3 separate regions of the Homo sapiens genome follow, and regions 2 and 3 are each linked to region 1. The links are contacts of gene promoters, found by promoter capture Hi-C in human tissues and cell types (Jung and others, 2019). All regions are on one chromosome and are shown on one strand. Each heading gives the region's core, a stretch centred on a gene start or on the middle of the fragment in contact. The rest is flanking DNA. Distances are from core to core; before and after follow the strand shown.

Region 1 (5,089 bases), core at 1,115-3,614:
CTCTGGGGGAAAAAAAAAAATCTCATCGGATACTCTGCGTATAAATAGAAAATAATTACTAGTGAGGTGGTGATGTTCCTTTGCCTATTTTTGGTGGGTCTCTTTGTTCAGATTTTTTAGGCATCACACGGAGCGCGTGCACACACGCGCGCACACACACAGGCCCCCGGCAGAGGGGGCGCGGAAGAAGGGGTGGGGAGAGGGTAGAGAAAAATACAGCGACTTCGTTGCCCAGACTCTGAAAGGGGACAGTTAAAGCTTATGCCCCAACCATCCAGCTGTTCGCAGGCCGCTAGTCACTCCTTCCACCCCGCCCGCCCGGACCTCACGCCAACCCCCAGCCTCTCCCGCGGCCGGGGGCTTAGTGCTCCTAGTGGCTGCGTCCTCCGCCTCCAAAGTTACGGAGTTTGCGAATCGATTTAGACACTTAAAATAAAAAAAATTTAAAAAAAGCAAAAGGCAAATAGCTCCATTAATCCCCCAAAGCCTTCTCCCATCTGCTGGAACTAGCTGGTGCTGGGGCTTGCATAATGAACAAGGCAAACCCGAAAGTTGACGAAATCAGGGTGCTTGGAAGTGAGGGCGCGCGAGGAGGGGGCTCGGGCCCCCGGAGTCCACGCCAGCCAGGGCAAGGGGCTCAATCTGCAGCGATGGCCACGGCCCCGGGCAGGGAGAAGTGGTGGCCAGAGAAAGGGATGAGGTGGGTAAAGGGGCGGGGGCAGCTGAGGTCCCAAATCCAGGGACGGCGAAGCTCTGGGAAAGCGAGGCGGCCGCTCCAAGCAAGGCTTTTGTTCTCGCCCTCCCCTCACTCCACCTCCCTCGTCTCCTTTTCGCGAGTCGTACGAGTTGCAGGCGGCACTCACTCTGACCCTCCCTCCTTCACACACGCGCGCTCGGGCTCACACACGCCCCCCTCCCCTTTCGGGCTCGCCTGCCCCTGTTTACCAAAAAGCTAGCACCTGGAATCCGAGGGGTGCCATGGACCCTCTCCCCAAACCCGAAGATTTCGGGGCCACGGGCTCCCAGGCTACGTGTCTCAAGTCCGCCTCAGTCACCAGCGGGAGGAGGCGGCCAGAGGGTGAGGGAGCAGAGTCACACACACACACACACACGCTCACACACACACGAACACGCTCAGACCCACACCTGTGCTGAGCCCAGCGCCCCTTCTCCGTGTTCCAAGCCGAAGTTGGCTTCCCGGTGACATCCCCCAGCGGAGAGGCTGGGATGCGGGGAGCGGGGACCGTGGGGAGCGCCATTGCCTGGGGGAAGGTGGGGAGGAGAGAGCAGGGAGAGCGAAGCCCCGAGGGGAGGGCGAAGGGGAGGCAGCCCACCTGGACATGTGCTCCCTTTGGGGCCGGTGCGCTTTCTCCAGCCCCAGCTTGGTGAAGATGCCCACGAGCACCATGACGGCCACCACCCCGCAGATGATGTAGACGATCAGGTTGGTCTTGTCCTTGGTGGGGTCGTGCAAGGGGTCGTCCTTGCGGGCGGGGGGCTTGCCGGTGTTGAGCCAGAGCGGCGTGTCGTAGTTGGTGCAGGTGCTTTGGTTCAGTCGCCGCTTCTTAAACGTGCAGCAGAACCGGAAGCCACAAGTCCCGCAGCAGAAGATGAAGTCGCCCGAGCTGCAGTTGAACGGCGGGTCCCACTGGCCCATGACATCGAAGTAGCCCCGGCAGAAGTCCGGCGTGGGCGCCCGGGTCGGGGGCGCGTCCGATGCCTCAGCGCCCTCGCTGGCCTCTCCGGAGGCGGCCCCGGAGCGGTTGCCCCCCGCCAGCAGCAACACGCCGCCCAGTTGCGCCAGCTGCCCGTGTCCCGCTCGCTCCTGCGCCCGGCACACGCGGGCGCACAGCTCGGTGAGGAAGCAACCGAGGAGCAGCCGAAGGACGCGGCGCATGGTGTCTCCCAGCCCGGGCTCGGCCGCTCGGCCGCCGCTGGAGCCTCTGCGGCCGCCTCTCGAGGCGCGGCCGAAGCTGCCGAGGCTGCTGCCGGGAGCTGCGAGCCGCCGCGGGCCGCACATGCAGGGAGCGGCGCGGGGCGCTCGGTGGTCGGCGGCCACTGCGCTCGGCTCAGCCCGCGTTCGCCTCAGCCCGCGTTCGCCTCCAGCGCGCCGCGCGCCGAGGGGCCGGCCGGGGAGGAGCGCGCCCGGCCGGGCGGGGGGAGGATGAGCGGGGTCAAGCGCGGGGTGCAGGTCCGGCCGGCCACTGGGTGAGGCGGGGGTGGAGAGCAGAGGAGAATCGGGCTGGCAGCGCCTAGCCTTGGCCGGCAGCCCCGGACTGGCCGCCCCTAGCCCTCTCGCAGTATCCCTCTCACCTCACCAGCTCGCCAAGTGCGCTGAAGAGAGCGAAGCGACACTTGTGGAATGAAGGGAGGGCAGGAGGGAAGGGGGAGGGGGAGGAGGGCGGGCAGAGGAGGCGCGGGTGGGGGGGGGCGGGCGCGAGCTCTAGAGGGGCGGGGGCGCGGGGAAGAGGTGACTAGAGCGGGAGCTAGCTGGGGGGCGTGCAGAGCTGAGCCAGGCGAGCGGACGGGGAGGAGCGAGCTCGGCAGCAGCCGAGGCTAGAGGAGCCGCTCGGATTTCCAGGCAGGTGGAAAACCGCGGCAGGACCTCCCGCGCCCTCTCTGGGTAGGAGGCGCGGCTCAGCCCTGTCCAGAGCGCAGAGGCGGCTCAGCTCGTAGCTTTTTCACCGGTGCGTGTGCAGGAGCGGCGGCCGAAATCTGTGCATCAGGGGAAGGATGACTCGGAGAGGATGGGGACAGACTAAATGGCTTTCACTCCAAGACAGACTGGGTGCAGTCTGGTCAGGATCGCCCCTCCCAGGCGTGCGGGGCCTCCTTGCCCTTCCCGGCTGCGCCCTCCAGCCCTGAGCGCAACCCGCATGGCTCAACTCTCTGGGCCCAAGCAAGGACCCAGGCGGAGCTGGGAAGGACAGGTGGCAAGCCCCTGAGCCAGGGATAAGCACCCTCCGGGGGAGAGGGGCTCGGGATGAACGAATCAAAGAAGGTCGGGGGTAAGAGGGGACAGCCGAACAAGGCCGAGGCTATGGCGTGTCCTGGAAGGTCTTTCCTTGGAAGTCCCCCAGCCTCTCGAACCTGCCGCTTTCTGTCCCTCTTCGCCCCCGCAGCGTTTTCTGCGCTCCACAGGAGGGAACACCGCGGCGCCGCCTCTGCGCTCCCGGATCTGGCGCAGCGCAAGGCCTGGGCACCCAGCCTCAGCCACCCTCCCGGACCTGGAGCCCGCGCATCGGTCTCTGGAGCTGGCTGGCCCCTGTCCCCACGGATCCCCCCGGAAATCCTCACCGGGGGCTGCAGAGCTCTGCCTTGCTTCCTCAGCTTCCAGCCTCCCGTCTCCTCTGTGTTTCCAAATCTGCCCTCTCTCTCCTAGCGAATTCCAGCTCCCCGGAGGCCCTCTCTCATTTCTCCCACCTCTTTCTCTCCTCTGCTTGAATTTGACTCCAGTAGCCCCAAAACAGGATTTGCACCAAAGCTGCTACACCAAATTTAGATCTCCCCACGCCCCGGCGTTTTGTTTTTTAATTGCATTAACTAAGTATACACTTTGCAGGCTGCTAGGCGATTTGCAAGGAGATAATGTTTCCACAACCCTCCTCTCCACTTGGCTGCAGTCAAGGGCTTCTCAGGGCATCTTCAGAGAACGAAAAGTTGGGCGACATGTAAAATGGTTTACTAGGGTCCCCTGAATTGAGAAAGGGTGGGAGGATTTATTGGGACTCTGTTGCAAGTTTTCTCCAAATGAGAAGTTTGGCTAATCGCCCCTTCTCTTTGAAAAAAAAAGTCACATTTTGATGTTTCAAAAAAGATTTGCAAACACACAGCAAGACATTGACAGGGCATACCCAGGAGTATTATATTCCAAACCCATCTGGGGAAGGTATGAACACGTTTAATCCAGATTCACCAGATTCATTATAATAGAATCCCCAAAATAGGAGAGTATGGAAAGTCTGTCATGACTGGCAACCCACGCCCACCACCACCTTGTGAGTCCTACAAACACAAGCACTGGTGTGTGAGAGCTAATGAGAGCTGACATTTATTCAGTGCCTGCAACATACTCACTAAGCTTGCTTTTTCTAAAAGCAGCTCCTCAAGAAAGCTTAGAGCAGTGCCCAGCGTATAGCAGACAGTCTGGAAATATTTGCTGAACCACCGAGTGACTGGTTTCATGTAACTCTCTCTCCCTTAGGTAATAGTACCAGGCCCACACAACAGAGGGAGAGAATGAGCCCCAAAGCAGTTAAACCAGTTGCCCAAGTAGCTCTGCCAAATGAGTGCCAGAATTGACATTTGACCCAAGAAATTTGAGTCCAGAAACTGCCCTCCAGCCACTACATGAAATAGGCCTCCAAACTTTCTGTCTACCTCCTACTATATTATGTATTTGCGTTTTCGTCTGTTTGCCTGCACTGAGATGTGAACTGTGTAATGGAGAGGGCCTCGACTCCCATACCATGTCCCCAGCCCCTAGAACCCAGGCATACGGAGCTGCCTTGCGGGTCCATGGCTGCGCCCTCCAGCCCTGTGCGCAACTCCAGGGATTTGAGCCTTTGGGGTTGTGCGGGGCTGCAGGGTGCAGCCCCGGGGTACAGTTCTAAGCATGGTAAACACTCAAAAAAATGCATGGGTTGTATTAATTAATTTATGCAAGACTCTGTCTTAAACCAAAAGAGGAAAGGAACACTTAGGGCATGGATGATGGAGTATCTGCTGTCATTATGTATATAAAGGGTGGGAGTTTTCTATATACTACATTGGAAATGGAAAGGGACCCTCCAGCGGGCTTCCTATGTTCCAGGAAGCTGTGGCTCAGAGGTTAAGACCTTTGTGGGAGATCACATGGACAGCAATGACCCCACCAGGGCTGGATTTAGACGCCCAACTCCTAACCCCGGCCTCTTCCTCCACTCTGTGTCCGACTCCACTTCAGCAGGTATTAGGGCAGAGTTTAACCAGGGACATGGGAGAACAGTAGGTCACAGGGTTCTTTCTGCAAGGGTTGGGAGTTTTAAGGTACTTGTAAATTTGATTAAAAAAATACTTCAGAGAAAAGAGACAAAATCTGGACAGAAAA
Region 2 (5,089 bases), core at 1,760-4,259, 36 kb before region 1:
GGCCTCTGCCTCAGACCTTGGAAAGTGACCATGATGGAACCACAAGCAGGCAGAAGAACACTCTGCCCCTCAAGATCATCCAATCAAAAATTCTCTCCTCCCCAGCAGGGTTAAAAGTGAAACACACCATTAAAATGTGACCCTTGGGAAGGGTCAACCTTTAGTTGCCTACAGAGTAAGAATTCGTTGGTTGGATAATAATGACTTTTAAGGCAGTATTCCTGAAAATATGGCCTCAGGACCACTGACATCAGAATCACCTAGGAGGAGGATGAGGCTGTCAAATTTGAATATATCACAGCCCCAGTCCCAGATTTGCTTTCTCAGCATTGCTGTCTCAAGAGAATGAGGTTCTGCGGAGAGAACTTACATTAACAAGCACTTGCAGAGAATCTGTTCTACAGCATCTACAGCAGGTATATGCCAGATGCTGAATCACATCTATCCTCTCTATGATGTTTCATTGAATAGCACAATAGACAGGGAGAGGCAGGTGATGGGGAAAGAGGAAGGTTGGGAAAAGTTGATGGAGTGGAAAAAAAGCACAAGTCAGACAGATCTAGGGATTCAAATCCCAACATAGCCACTTGGACAAGTGACAACCTCCGTGAGTATAAATTTCCCATGGGGTTGACTTAAATCATAAATGAGAACTATGGTCCACGCTCATTCTCATAGTCAACTGCAGGATTCCATTCAAAGTACAATGAAAAGGGCTTGTGACCAGTGCACACAAGGGTTGTATTTCACCAACAACAAACCTCTGGGAGGAAAAGTATGGGCCAATCAGGGATATTCAAAAGAAACTACTTCCTGGCCAGGCGCAGTGACTCACTCCTATAATCCCAGCACTTTGGGAGGCCAAGATGGGTGGATTGCCTGAGGTCAGGAGTTTGAGACCAGCTTGGCCAACATGGTGAAACCCCGTCTCTACTAAAAACACAAAAATTAGCCAGGCGTGGTGGTGAGCACCTGTGATCCCAGCTACTCAGGAGGCTAAGGCAGGAGAATCGCTTGAACTTGGAAGACAGAAGCTGCAGTGAGCCAAGATTGTGCCACTGCACTCCAGCCTGGGTGACAGAGGGAGACTCCATCAGAAGGAAAGAAAAGGAGAGGAGAGAAGAGGAAAGGAGAGGAGGGGAGAGGAGAGAAGAGATGAAACTACTTCCTGATGGAGTTTTTCCCCCAAAACATCATCTGAATGTACTAACTCAATGAATATCCACCCTCAATGCTTACTTGGAACATGGCACATACTCAACATGGGAGGGAGAACTTAGAAGTATTTGCTGCCCTCAATGTGTTTTCAATCTAGTTAGAGAGAAAACTACAGACTCCTAGGAAAATTAAGATACACCACAAAAATCAAAGTCAAAGGCAACATGGCATGGAAAGTCAAAAGGCAGAATGGCTCACGCCTGTAATTCCAACACTTTGGGAGGCTGAGGTGGGTAGATCACCTGAGGTCAGGAGTTCAAGAGCATCCTGGCCAACATGGTGAAACCCCCTCTCTACTAAAAATACAAAAAAAAAATTAGCTGGGCGTGGTGGCAGGTGCCGGTAATCCCAGCTACTCAGGAGGCCGAGACAGGAGAATCACTTGAACCTGGGAGGCAAAGGTTGCAGGAAGCCAAGATCATGCCATTGCACTCCAACCTGGGCAACAAGAGTGAAACTCCATCTCAAAAAAAAAAGAGAGAGAGAGAGAGAGAATTAGCCCCTAGGAGTCAATAAATGTAAGCTGACTTGGAGAGAACAGAATTGAGCACATCACTAAGAAAGAGTCATGGGAGTGGAAGAAACAGATAGATCGATTATAAGGAGCTGAGCTTTGCCTTGAGTTCTCAAAATGTGTAAGACTTGTCTAGCAAGAAAAGAGAGAGGTATTCCAGGGAGAGTTGCAGTAAGTCATTGATAGCCCCACTATGGTCTCAATTCCCCCAGGCTGCTGAGCTTCTGGAAGATGAAGAACTGACCCATCGGAAAATATACAGATTGGAACAAGCATAGCTTTATTCTTCCCCTTCTCGGGATGGACCCCAACACCTAACCAAGGCTTTCCCTCTTACACTAAGCTTTGAGGACAGCCATGGCCTCATAAGAATCACAATCCATTCTACAAGTCCAGCAACAGTTCATCAAGGAGAGACTGGTGGCCACTGGCCAAGATCTCTGTATGCTCCTCAAGGGTTTCAATAGTTGGATTCCATTTACCTCTCTGGATTCCAGCTGCCTCACCTTATAAAATCACAGCTGGTACCAATCCTCCAGGCTCAGCTCACAGCAAAAGGGCAAAAGATATATCTAGGTCTAAATAGACCAAAAGCAAAAAAAAGTCTCCAGTATCCACTGTTATGGACTGAATGTTTGTGTGCCCTCAAAATTCATATGTTGAAACCCTAACCCCCAATGGTTCTGTATTTGAAGATGGGGTCTGTGAGAAGATGACAAAGATCAAATGAAGTCATAAGGATGGGGCCCTAATCTCACAGGGTGGGTCCCCTTATCAGAAGAGGAAGAAACACCAGAGTGCTCTCTCTCTTTCCACCATGTGAGGACACAGCAAGAAGGTGGCTGTCTGCAAGCCAGGAAGGGAGCCCTCTCCAAAACTGTCCCTGATGGACTTGGTCTGGTATGTCTACCCTCCAGAATTGTGAGAAAATAAATTCCTGTTGTTTAAGCCACCCAGTCTGTGTTATTTTGTTAGGCCAACCCAAGCAGACTAATATGCCCACTATTAAATGAAATCAGCAAGGTGCAGAAGTGTTCAGAAATGTTAGTAAATGCATAGAATATCTTTGTGAGAACAGACAATAAACTTATTACAGTGGTTGACTCTGGAGAGGAGAATTAGAGTGCTTGAGGAGAGAGGGCACTTAGTGTTTGCTTCACGTCCTTGAATATTGCTTTACTTTCTTTTCTACCATGTACATATTGACCTATTCAAATAGATAAATACGTTAATTTTTTTAAATGTACTATATGTACATGGACAGACTGCTAGACATAAGACACTGCCTAGAGACCTGAGCAAGTCATCCTTCTGGGAAATTCCAAGCTCCACAAATCATCTAAAACTCAATTCTTAAAATTTCAAAAAATATGCACATAGGTGGGCTTGTACAACACAGGGGAAGGAGCTGTGGTTCACAAGAGGACCAGCTAAGTATGTGAAATTACTTGGGGGATATCCTGTGTTCCAGGTTACAATAGTGATCTTAAAAGACAGTGTTGGAGTAAGGAACAAATACACAAACCCCACCGCCCTCTAGCCAACCCGTGCTGTGTGTCAAGGGTGTCAATGGTTGGATTCCGTTTACCTCAAGGGCTTAGACAAATCTGTAAACAAGCAGGAGCCATATGGCATCATTCATAGGCACCGAGTAGGGGTTTTACAAAATAACAGTAGAGTCTTGTCTCGTGTAGAGATCTGAGGCCAGAGGGAGCAGCTAAAATCATATTCAGCCAAAATTACCCATGATGGCTGTTTCTCTGGTTCAGCACCAGATGAAGTAACTGGCTTGTGTTTAGGGGCCAAGTTATATGAAAAATGCATATCTTTAAATGCTAGAATCACACTCTGGAGAAGCTCGTGGGAAGTGAGTCTGTCTGAAGCAAAAGCAGACTCATGTCTCCCATCTCACTTTGAGCATATGCTCATTGTGTGGAATGGGAAACAGAAATACTCACATTATTTATGTTACACTCTCTCTCTTTCTTCCCCTCCTCCATCCCTTCTCCCATCCCTGAACTGAGATCACAGAGTTGAGTTCACATAACTTAAAGACACTTATGCCTCACTGTGCTCCACAGTAAGGTAAGAGAATATGACATTGGACCAACCTGGCTCCTACTCCAGCCATGGAAACCTAGAAAATTATTATAATCAGATCCCAACTGCTCAAGTATCCCCAGTTTCCTAGCAACCCTCAAAAGGCTTTGGAGAAGGGTGGGAACAAGGACTTCCTGGGTAAGGTGGTGGCAGCTGTTTGAGATTGCTGGAGAGCTTCCCCAAATTGTCTTAAAGGCCTTTCTCACCCGTCATCCCAAGAACCCAACGAAGCACCTGCTAGCGAAGGGACATCAGACGATGCATCTACTCAAGAACTCCCAGAGACTCCGTTCTAAATTCCCTTACCTGGACTTCTAAGCCTTCCATTTGTCAGTCGGCTTCATCACTCCTCACTCTGGAAGGCAGCCCCTCTCTTCAAGTAAGGCTAGTTCCTTTCCACCTGCCTCAGTAGCCTTCTGAGAACACGTTCCCTCCTGGCCCTCATGTCCACTCACATCTCCTTCCCCTCAATATATCCTCCATCTCATATGTCCCTTCTTTTTTTTTTTTTTCTTTTTGAGACAGGCTCTTGTTCTGTTTCCCAGGCTGGAGTACAGTGGCACAATCTCTGCTTACTGCAGCCTCAACCTCCCCAGGTTCAAGTAATCTTCCCATCTCAGCCTCCCAAGTAGCTGGGACCACAGGCACGTGCCACCATGCCCAGCTACTTTTTGTATTTTTTGTACAGATGGGGTTTCACTGTGTTGCCCAGGCTGATCTTGAACCCCTGAGCTCAAGTGATCCACCTGCCTCAGCCTCCCAAAGTGCTGGGATTACCAGCGTGAGCCCCTGGGCCCGGCCTGTCCCTTCTAATTATTCGATTTTCCTTCCCCATGAATGAGCTTCCCATGATCACATATGCCCATTTTTGCTGGAGACATTCCATAGGCTTCATTATTATGCCTAGTTAGAGACAAAAAGCAAACACACGCCCACAGATAAGGAGCACCACAGGAGCTAAGCCACAGGGCAAGAAAATAACGCAGGAAATATCATCAGCAGCATCTAGATGTTGGTAGAATTCTAAGGGATGGAAATGACTTGGACAGATACCAAGATATACATAAATGCAGAGAAGAGATCAGAGAGGAGATGGAATTTGTTTGGGTCTTTAGAGGTTTGTTTGTTTCCCTTTTTGAATACTCATGATCCATTTCCTACTTCTTCTGACCAGCATCTCAATTTTATGGTGGAGACTTTCCTATTCCTCACTATGTGCAGTTTTGGTGAGACTGTCACTCAAAGCCCCTGTCCTTC
Region 3 (5,089 bases), core at 839-3,338, 37 kb after region 1:
GGACAAAGCCAACCACCGTATCATGAGGACAGTTCAGCAGTCTCATGGGAAGGTCCGTGTTATAAGGAACTGAGGCCTCCTACCAATAGCCAGCATCAACCTTCTAGCCATGTGAGTGCATCTTGGATCCTTTAGCCCAACAAAGCCTTCGGACGACTGCAATCCCAACCTGTGTCATAATGGCAACCTCTGAAAGACCATAAGCCAGGACACCCAGTTGAGTCACTCCCAAATGCCCGACCAAGAAAAGCTGCATTAGTCCGAGCACAGTGGCTCACATCTGTAATCCCAGAACTTTAGGAGGCTGAAGGAGGAGGATCACTTGAGGCTAGGAGTTCAAGACAAGCTTGGACAACATAGCAAGACACTGTCTCTACAAAACATTTAAAAAACTAGCCAGGTGGGGTGACACATGCCTGAAGTTTCAACTACTTGGGCGACTGAAACAGAAGGAGCTCTTGAGCCCAGGAGATCGAGGCTGCAGTGAGCTATGATCACACCACCGCACTACAGCCTGGGCAACAGAGCAAGACCCTGTCTCAAAAAGAAGGAAAAAAAAACAGAATAAAGAAACTGCATGAGATAATAAAGGTTTATTGTTCTCTTAAGTCCCTATATTTGGGGAAATATTTGTTGTGCAGCCATCAATAACTAATACAGTCATGAAGCACTATCGTGAGAAGCTTGGGTTTTCTTTTTAGCATCATTTGACGATTTTAAGTGGGAAGATAATGTGATCTGATTCATGTTCACATGGAGCACTCCGGATTCTGGGAGGGGAATGGGATGTAGCAAAGCAAGAGAAACCGAAGTGTTGGAAGGATTCCTAATTCCAGACTTCCTTCCAGCTGTCTGAAAATGCCCTTTAATTTCTTTCCAACCATCCAATTGCAGTCTTGCAGTTCCTAATAGGAGATGGAACAAGTTCTGAAGTTTAGAAATGTTGGAAGCACTGCACAGCTTCCTGTCTTGTTGTCACTCCACTTCCACTCTCTATGTGGTCACCAAATATTTTGTCCAGCTTATCCCATGACAGCACTACATTTCCTGGTTCCCCTGTGATTGGGTGGGACCTTGTGACTAGTTTTGGAGAATGAATTGTGAGTGCACGTACCCCATATTGCTGCAAGCCAAGGATTGTATTGCTCACTGAAGACCCTCCAATGCTGTCTTCTTTCATGAGTGTGCATATGAGACGGCGGCTGCTCCATTAGCCTGGACCCCTGAGTAACCAAGAGGAGCAGAACACCCCTTGCCAACTCTAGACGTATCAATGAGCGTGAACGAGAAATAAACCTTTTCTGTTTTAAGATATTGAAATGGGCCAGGCACAGTGCTTCACGCCTGTCATCCCAGCACTTTGGGACGCTGAGGTGGGTGGATCACCTGAGGTCGGGAGTTCAAGATCAGCCTGGCCAACATGGAGAAACCCCGTCTCCACTAAAAAAAAAAAATAGCCGGGTGTGGTGGCACATGCCTGTAATCCCAGCTACTCAGGAGGCTGAGGCAGAAGAATCTCTTGAACCTGGGAGGCAGAGGTTGCAGTGACCTGAGATCGCACCACTGCACTACAACCTGGGCAACAAGAGCAAAACTCCGTCTCAAAAAACAACAACAACAACAAAAAAAAACCAGCACATCCTAACTGATAGACTTTCTTATAAAGCCAGTTTTTATTATTAATAGGTGCCATTTGTGGATTATCTACATGACTCTAATAATTTATTATCTATGACCTTGTTCAATTCTCACATCTCCTGCAAGATAAATATTATTATTTCTATTTGACAGATGAGGAAACAGGGGCTCAAAGAAGTAAAATAAAGTGGAAAATCCACAGGAAATGAAATTAATATCTGTAGGGATGTTTTTTAAGTACCAGCAATATCAAACACTTAACTTTTATTAGGACAAGTGGCATAACTTCTCTGTGCCCCATTGTATCATCTGGGATTCAGCTGCAAAATCTCTCCCACTACGTAAGGCAAAAAAGAATTTAATAGAAAGAATTCAGTTCAGGCTGGGCATGGGGGCTCACTCCTGTAATCCCAGAGCTTTGGGAGACCAAGACGGGCAGATCACTGAAGGTCAGGAATTCGAGACCAGCCTGGCCAACATGGTGAAATCCCTGTCTCTACTAAAAATACAAAAATTAGCTGGGCATGGTGGCGGGTGCCTATAATCCCAGCTACTCAAGAGGCTGAGGTAGGAAAGTCACTTGAACCTGGGAGGCAGAGACTGCAGTGAGCTGAGTTTACACCACTGCTCTCCAGCCAGGGTGACAGAGTGGGACTCCATCTCAAAAAAAGAAAAGAAAAATTAGATCAAACAAAATTGTTATGAGGGCTGGAGGAGCAGGATCTAGGCTGTCCTCTAGGAACGACTTCCAGAGCAGCATCTCAGAACTTGCCCATCAGAGAAAGAGGAAGAAGGGCCAGCAGAAAGCCACCTTCTGGGCCAGGCGCAGTGGCTCACGCCTGTAATCCCATCACTTTGGGAGGCCAAGGTGGGCAGATCACAAGGTCAAGAGATCGAGACCATCCTAGCCAAAATGGTGAAACCCCATCTCTACTAAAAATATGAAAATTACCCGGATGTGGTGGTGTTCACCTGTAGTCCAAGCTTCTCAGGAGGCTGAGACAGGAGAATCGATTAAACCTGGGAGGTGGAGGTTGCAGTGAGATGAGATCGCGCCACTGCACTCCAGTCTCGTGACAGAGCGAGATTACATCTCAAAAAAAAAAAAGGAAAAAGAAAAAGAAAAAAAGAAAGCCACCTTCTGATGTCTGGCTTCAGGATCACACCACCTTAACCATGGCCCAGATGCAGGAAACAATCCCTCCTCCTGCTCTTTGTCAAGCCACATCTCATCTGCTGTGAGCTAACACCAAGTTGGATGCCTCATCTCCCCACCAAACTTCATTCTAAACTCAAGTCTTTGGTGAGTCCATATGATTGGTGGTTCTGAATCAGACCAGGAGCGCTAGCTACAAGGGAGTCTGGAAAACATGTTACAGATTTTCACTTTCCAGTCTCTGCAGTACGAGAGACGTCCTAGAAAAACAGTTGAACAGATGTTAGAAGAGACAAGTGACTGGATCCACTACACTGTTTTTCCACCTGAAAAAATGGGTTTGTAATTTCTGCTCTATGTAATCATAGGGCTATGTTGAGGAGAAAACAAGACCAAAAATGTGGACCTACTCAAATATCACTGCCTTCTTGATATCAAACATAAAAATCCTTCTGATAATCCTATATGGTCAGTATCATTATCTCCATTTTTAGCAAAATGAAGTTAAGGCTTTGGAGGCTGAGCTCACACAGGTAGTAAGCTTTAGGCTTGATGCCATAAAGTGACCAGCTTGTCCCAGCTTGAAAGTAGCCAGACTTGTTTTGTGTGTGTGTGTGTGTGTGTGTGTGTGTGAGATAGAGTTTTGCTCTTGCCGCCCAGGCTGGAGTCCAGTGGTGGGATCTCAGCTCACTGCAACTTCCGCCTCCCAGGTTCAAGCGATTCTTGTGCCTCAGCCTCCCCCAACAGCTGGGATTACAGGTGCCTGCCACCACGCCCAGCTATTTTTTTGTATTTTTAGTAGAGATGGAGTTTCACCATGTTGGCCAAGCTGTTCTTGAACTCCTGACCTCAAGTGATCCACCCACCTGGGCCTCCCAAAGTGCTGGGATTACAGGTATGAGCCACTGCACCCAGCCTAAATCAGCCAGACTTTCCACACTACCTCTCTGTTCCTGACGCTCAAGCCTCTTTTAGCCTGGAAAGAATATTCTGTGTTTCTTAATTAGTGCTAATGGAACACGTGCATTTCCTCCAGGCACAAAAATTCTCTGCATATTTCTGCCTATTTAACCACATGTTCTAATTGATATCTTTCCCCCTGCCCCCCAACTAATTTATTTACTAATTAAAACTCTGTTCAAATGAATCGCACTTGATTCAGGTCCCGCCTTCACAGCATTTTGCAGCAAGCTTCAAGGAGGCTCCTGGGGAATGTTCTTTCTGGGAGCGCTCAGTTTAGGGTTGGATGTAGGACCCTTCCCTTGTGCTCCCTAAAGAAGGGGTCAGGCTGCCCCCTCACAGGACCAGGGGATGGTCTCTGAGTCAGCGGCTGGCGGCACTCAGCGTTTGAAGACATAGTATGTGCCAGGCAATAGGACAAGCGCAAGGAGAGACAAGCAATAATGGCTCAGGTTCTCAATCCAGCTGAGCTTTTAACAAGCTATGTGATTTGAGGCAAACTAGTGGACCTCTCAGAGCCTCCCTCTCCTCAGCTGTAAAATTTCACTAATGAATTTAACTTTCTTAGTAACGTTGAGGGGATTAAATGAGTTGATGCAGGGGTCCCCAAACCCCGGGCCGAGGGCTGGGAACTGAGCCACACAGCAGGAGGTGAGCAGTGGGTCAGCAGGAGGTGAGCGGCGGGCGAGCAGGCGGTGAGCGGTGGGCAAGCGGGAGCGGGAGGTGAGCGGTGGGCAAGCGGGAGCGGGAGGTGAGCAGTGGGTGACCGGGAGGTGAGCAGTGGGTGACCGGGAGGTGAGCGGTGGGTGAGCGGGAGGTGAGCAGTGGGCAAGTGGGAGCGGGAGGTGAGCAGTGGGTGAGCGGGAGGTGAGCAGTGAGCGAGCCGGAGCGGGACATGAGCAGGGGGCAAACCAGCATCACCACATGAGCTTCACCTCCTGTCAGATCAGAGGCGGCATTAGATTCTCATAGAAGCGTAAACCGTATTGTGAACTGCGCCTGAGAGGAACCTAGGTTGCACACTCCTTATGGGAATGTAATGTGGAACAGTTTCATCCCGAAAACATCCCCCGCCCCTAACCCCGGTCCATGGAAAAATTATCTTCCATGAAACTGGTCCCTGGTGTCAGAAAGGCTGGGAACCAGGGAGTTAATGCATCTCAGAACACCAGTGACAGGACATCAGGGTCACAAGCCAGGACTCTTGGGGTCAGGCTGGGGTCTTCTCTTTGCTGCCTTTATGACTTATCACCAATGACATAACTTCTCTGGACCTCAGTTTTCTCATTTGTATTACGGGGTTAATGAAAGCGACTACCTCATTATATTCTCAAA

Evidence for each region. Contacts are between HindIII fragments. The study calls those that stand out against the background at their distance.
Region 2: a contact is called between a fragment that was not itself captured here and the fragment with the promoter of SHISA9 in region 1, in 1 of the 25 tissues and cell types used here (mesendoderm cells).
Region 3: a fragment that was not itself captured here is called in contact with the fragment with the promoter of SHISA9 in region 1 in 3 of the 25 tissues and cell types used here (psoas muscle, small bowel and spleen).

Annotation. Positions count from the first base shown.
Region 1 is chr16:12,898,873-12,903,961 of GRCh38, reverse strand. It overlaps SHISA9 (shisa family member 9), which reads right to left and starts at 2,364. Exons shown (of 5, transcript NM_001145204.3): 1 at 1,335-2,364. The coding sequence starts at 1,897. The HindIII fragment of the contact is 6,671 bases long and covers 1-5,089 here.
Region 2 is chr16:12,935,110-12,940,198 of GRCh38, reverse strand. The region is part of intron 2 of SHISA9 (shisa family member 9); the gene reads right to left. LOC105371092 (a long non-coding RNA gene) reads left to right here. Exons shown (of 3, transcript XR_001752088.3): 3 at 1,945-2,058. Among named protein-coding and RNA genes, the nearest start is that of SHISA9, 36 kb to the right of the region's middle. RefSeq lists an enhancer at 1-515. The HindIII fragment of the contact is 6,366 bases long and covers 1-5,089 here.
Region 3 is chr16:12,861,936-12,867,024 of GRCh38, reverse strand. No RefSeq gene overlaps it. Among named protein-coding and RNA genes, the nearest start is that of SHISA9, 37 kb to the left of the region's middle. The HindIII fragment of the contact is 3,145 bases long and covers 516-3,660 here.